Linked DNA regions of Homo sapiens: region 2 is linked to region 1. The links are contacts of gene promoters, found by promoter capture Hi-C in blood cells and fetal thymus (Javierre and others, 2016). All regions are on one chromosome and are shown on one strand. Each heading gives the region's core, a stretch centred on a gene start or on the middle of the fragment in contact. The rest is flanking DNA. Distances are from core to core; before and after follow the strand shown.

Region 1 (2,700 bases), core at 73-2,572:
GTTGGAAGCGACCTAAGCGTCTATCACCGATGAGTGGATAAAGAAAATGTGGTACATATACACAATGAAGTACTATTCAGCTAAAAAAGAATTAGATCCTGTCATTCACAATGACATGGATGGAATTGAAGATCATTATGTTACGTGAAATAAGCCAGGCACAGACAGACAAACTTTGCACGTTCTCACTTGCTTGTGAGAGGTAAAAATTAAAACAATTGAACTTGTGGGCATAGAGAGTAGAAGGATGGTTACCAGAGGCTGAAGGGTAGTGGGGGTTGGGGAAGAAGTGGGGATGGTTAATGGGTACAAAAAAATAGAAAGAATGAATAAGAACTAGTATTTGATAATACAACAGTGTGACTATAGTCAATAATAATTTAATTGCACATTTAAAAATAAAAATATAATTGCACTGTTTGTAACACAAAGGATAAATATTTGAGGTGATGGATATCCCATTTACCCTGTGTGATTATTACATATTGCATGCCTCTATCAACATATCTCATATACCCCATACAAATATATGCATACCCCATACATATATATATACATACACACACACACACACACACACACACACACACACACACACACACATATATGTATATCTACTATGTACCCACAGACGTTAAAAATTAGAGGAGAAAACACACACACAACAAGGAGACTGAGCTGGAAGGATGGAGCTCTGGGATAGATTTGTCCTACATCCCTGCCTGGGAGGGAATCCACACACATGCAAGAAGACAAACTAGGAGCATGGGCTACTAAATTATACCACATTGCACTCATCGGGGTCACAGGGTTTCTTCCAAGTGACCCGCACATGCCCTTCCCATCTCTGTGTGACAGTGGCACCTGCACCAGACTGCATGTTGAGGTGTCATCTGAAATTATGAAATAAAACAGAAGTAAGAGGTCTATTAGCTCATCAAAATGCAGTTATCTAAGTTCAGCTGTGAACTGCCAAATTTGAGGAGTGATCCAATGAAACATCTTTTCTTTGCAATCCAAGAAGACTTACCGGAGAGAACTGCTCAGAGAATCTGCAACATCCGGTTCCTGGAGACAGCTAAGGAAAGAAGCTGGGGCGCATGTTTCTGCCCAAAGCCGGGTTTTGGCCGAGGTGACTACACACCCCCTTTCCTGGCTCCCATAGGCTAAGTGCCTGGCTTCTTGAGAAGCCTGCTTCTTGAGAACAAAAAAGTGATTTAAAGCCTCATGGGAGATGAGCAATCCTCAAGACACAAGCAGAAAAAGTCCCAGTGATACAGGAAGCGGGTTCAGGAACCTGCTGGTTCCTGATACATAAATCAGACAGCCTCTGCTGCATGACACGAAGCTTGCTTCTGCCTGGCATCTGTGAGCAGCTGCCAGGCTCCGGCCAGGATCCCTTCCTTCTCCTCATTGGCTGATGGATCCCAAGGGGCTCCTCTCCTTGACCTTCGTGCTGTTTCTCTCCCTGGCTTTTGGGGCAAGCTACGGAACAGGTGAGTGTTCATCTGCCTGATGGTTTGAGTCCCATGTTAGCTGCCAGGAATCAGCGTATCTTCGTGGATGGAGAGAAGGTGCAGGGCTGGGTATTGTGTTTGGTCACTCTTCCTTAGGGACTGGCTGTCAGTTTCAACTGCCTCTTTCAAAGAGGAAGGAACATTATAAGTTCCTGGGCCCTTGGGTTTCCAAGACTCAGCCCCACCAACCCCAGTTTCCAAGGAAATGAGGGGCTCTAAGCCAAAGGCTCCAGTCACTTTTCTGACCAGTCTTAGGGTGACAGGCCCTGGTAGAAGTCTTGCTTGAGTGGTTGGTTTTACATGGGCATCTTCTGGCAAAGACCCAGCCTAGAGAGACTGAGCTGGATGGACTGAGCTCTGGGAGAAGATTTGCCCTACATCCCTGCCCTGGGAGGGAATCTGTGCACATGCAGGCTGACAAACCAGGAGCATGGGTCAACAGAAAGCATTGGCTAGAGTGGGAAGAGAGAGTAGAAGTGAAAACTCCAGGCTTTTGGCTGAGAACCAGCAGTGGCCACAGTGCGGTCATACTGGTGTGTATTTTCTTGGAAGAGAAGGTCCAAGAAAGCAAGAGGGAAGAAGTTGGGATTTCTGAAGGCTAGGGCTGGTTACAGTATGTGGGAAATGCAAATTGGGAACCCTCAGAGAGTAGCTCCAGCAGGAAGGCCAGACAAGAGCTACCTTTGGATCTGGACTCTGTTCCTGTCTTTCTGTCTATCTTCTTCCCAAGGCAGGCTATTGCTTTCTGTTTAGAAGTATCAGGGCTATGAGAAAAGGTATTTGAGAAAGAAAAAGCCAAGCAAGAAGTGGACTTTGGACTGCCTGTGTGAGTGGGGTGAGAATCTCCTTCTGCTTATTTGTTTAGACTGTGGGAGGTAGCCTGGAGTAGAAGAGGTGGCATTACGGACACGGGGGGAAATCCTGAGGCCCAGGGTGTTTTAAGCTTGGGGTTTTCAAGACCGCAAATCCAATATGGACTTTTCCAGGAAAAGCACCGTGATATGCCAGGGATGTGGGGGTGCTGCACAATGGATGTGTCTTTTACCAGACAGCCAGACGAACAGGGCTTGCTCAGCCCACTTTCTTTTGGAATCTGCAGATCCATGGCTCGTACTTCCCAAGGTCTAGGGGAGGAAGAACTGAGCTCGGGGCTCAGAAAACCAAATCGAGCCACTTTAAGTGG
Region 2 (2,700 bases), core at 7-2,506, 130 kb before region 1:
AGTGAAAACATATGAAAGTGCTTTGGAAAGGCCTATGCAGATGCAGAGGGATGCTCTTATCAAATTCCTTAAAGAAATTTAAAAAATCTTAGCAGGAGAAACTACAAAGGAAGCAATGGGGTGGGTATCAAGCACACACAGCACCGAGAAAGGCCTATGAAAGATGCTACGCTGAGCCACTTTGAGATTCAGACAGTTGATTATTCATATAACGAATGGAAGAGTAGCCAAGGGTTCCAGATCCCTGGGCACTTGTCCCACACCAGAAAAGATGACATTGAAACAAAAGGGGCCAGATGGCTGCAGTGGGAGCTGTGGAATACCCAGATGCCGAGGGGCCAATTCTACCTTCAGCAAAGAGGACTTAGAGACCGCAGCTGTGTTCTGAGGACAAGAAGTCCCATACTGCATCAGAACCCCAGGAGCCAGGGGAAATAGTCTCATGACAGCCTCCCAGGGGAGATGGCTTCAAGGCTGTGCCTCACAGGCCACCTGAACTCTCGTGTTCTGGGTGGATCACAAGGCATTTTGCCAAGACCCAGTTTAGCAGAGGTTGAAACCTTTGCCTGAGAGAGATGTGCAAGGTCTCAGGGTGCTATGGCAGAGCCGTTCCCCTGCAATGAGCGAGGGGGACAGGTGGTGAGTGAGGATGGACATGGGAAGGCCAGCAGAGAACCTTCACAGACATTTTTCTTGGATTCTGTGATAGGAAATCTTCCTATTAGACGAAGGCACTCTTTTAGTGGAGTTGATGGGGCTGCTCTCTGGTCAGGTCCACATGGCTGGGGAGAAGGCGTGTCTGCCATAAATCAGGCCTGGGCTGGCTATGGCCTGCTTCTCACAACAGGACCAGGGCACAATGGAAGTGGGTTGCTGGGACTTGGGGTTGGGTTGCTCACTAGGGTAGGGTGGGCCCAAAACTGGTGGGAGAGGCCCTTTGGCCTCGCTGATAGTCATTCTGATAGCACTTACTTAGTGTGGTATGGTGTCAGGTGGAGTCTGGGTAGAGGATAGGGTTGTGCCAATCCATCAGGGGTGGGGTCTTCCAGAGAGCCCTTCTCTCTCTGGGTTGACATCCCAATGGCAAGGCAGTGCTAATGGTCAGGCTCCATCCTTCACAGGGTGTTTCCCATCACTGCAGCCTCACAACAGCCCTGCCAGTATGCAGGTCAGGAGTTTTCATTTCTAGGAAGGAAACGGAATCTTAGAAAGGGAAAATAAGACACCTATGACATGGAGCTAGAAAGTGGCAGATTTGGGAATCGAACTCAGGTATTCTGATGCTGTACCCTGTGCCTTCATTCTCTGGGTTTCTGGTATGTCGCCATATTTATTGGATGAGAAAAGGGCCAATAGAAGTCAAGTGGCTTGCATCCCAGGGCCTGATATATAGGAGACACAGTGGGGAGAGCCAGCAGCAAGGTACCCACCTGTGGGGATGTCCAGGCTGCCTTCTCCTGGGGGACACGCTGGGCCTGTGTGGTCCTACTTTGCACAGTTGAGTTTCCCCTGGGGCTGCAGTCGTGTGGGCCACAGGGCTGAGGCTGAGTAGCAGAGTAGCCTTGTTCTATGCAATATGACTTTGTTGAGTGTTTCAGGCCTGGTGTCTGCAGCTGCTCTTCTCGCCTCCCCCAAATCCTCCTGGGTCTGGCCTGGGAGGCTGGTGGACAAATAATGGCAATGTGGACACCTCGAGCACTTAAGAATATCTGGGTCATGGCCCTGGGGCAAGAGGAGACGGGGAGCAGGTCCAAGGGAGTGCAAGGGAGTGGGAGAAACCTCAAAGGCACACAGCCACCTCCTCTGGGACTCTTGATCAACACCTGGAAGCTCAGTGTATGCTGCAGAGCCCCCTACGGGGAAAATATGTAATTACAACACAGCTCCGTACTTGCATTCCTTTATCTATTCAGGGCAGGGTTGGGAAACTCAGTTTTGGGCTCAAATTCACTGGATTTGGATTTTGGCTTTACCACTTAACTAGATGAGACTTTGGGCAGGTTATCTAAGCATTCTGAGCCTGTGAAATGGAGTTGATATAACATCTTCCCTGTTTAGTTCATGGAGTTGTTCTGGAAATCAACTGAGATGTTAAGTGACATGGCCTTACATAGCACAAAGTTCTGGAACAGATGTGGGCAGATCCTGCCTCTGCTGTTCCTTCTGTGTATTCAAGGTGATGCAAGGTTTGGGCACTAATGCCGTGCATTTTCTGTCCTGTGAAGTGGAGGCCCAGAGCAGTTTCCCAGTCCTCAGTTTATTCCCTTTCGCACACACAGAGCAGCTGGCCTGGCCTCATGTCACACTGAGCTCCAGGATTAGTGAGGATGGATGCTGCATTGTCACTCTCATATGCCATTGACATGTGTGGCAGAGAGCAGAGGAGGCAGTGTGACTTACAGCTGGACACCCCTGGGACCCCAGACTGTTGTTGTGTCCTGTGGAGGGTCTGTCCTCAGTGTCTCCTTGAGGCTTGGGGACAGTGCTCTAACTTTTACCTGCATGGTCAAGAACCCATTCAGTAACAGCAGCTCCCACCCTATCTCAGTGCCTCACTTCTGCATATGTACCAGGCTCCTCAGTCTGCCCAGGGGCCTGAGCAGCTCTGGGGTTGACAGGGAGGGTGGAAGAAGAAGTCCTGGTTCCCTTCAGACCCTGGGGCAAGGGGGCTAACACCATTGGGAGGGTGGGAGTCTGGGG

The links. The method cuts DNA at HindIII sites, captures the fragments that hold promoters and counts their contacts. A CHiCAGO score of 5 or more calls a contact.
Region 2: a contact is called between a fragment that was not itself captured here and the fragment with the promoter of SLAMF1 in region 1, in 4 of 17 cell types (non-activated CD4 T cells, activated CD4 T cells, naive CD8 T cells and 1 more). The highest score is 7.9, in non-activated CD4 T cells.

What each region holds. Positions count from the first base shown.
Region 1 is chr1:160,645,666-160,648,365 of GRCh38, reverse strand. It overlaps SLAMF1 (signaling lymphocytic activation molecule family member 1), which reads left to right and starts at 1,322. Exons shown (of 7, transcript NM_003037.5): 1 at 1,322-1,496. The coding sequence starts at 1,421. It overlaps LOC107985220 (a long non-coding RNA gene), which reads right to left and starts at 1,357. Exons shown (of 2, transcript XR_001738266.2): 1 at 1,031-1,357; 2 at 1-893. RefSeq lists enhancers at 1,191-1,240, 1,281-1,490. The HindIII fragment of the contact is 11,196 bases long and covers 1-1,350 here.
Region 2 is chr1:160,776,819-160,779,518 of GRCh38, reverse strand. The region is part of intron 1 of LOC105371470 (a long non-coding RNA gene); the gene reads left to right. Among named protein-coding and RNA genes, the nearest start is that of LY9, 18 kb to the left of the region's middle. RefSeq lists enhancers at 1,667-1,736, 2,057-2,106. The HindIII fragment of the contact is 4,063 bases long and covers 1-2,700 here.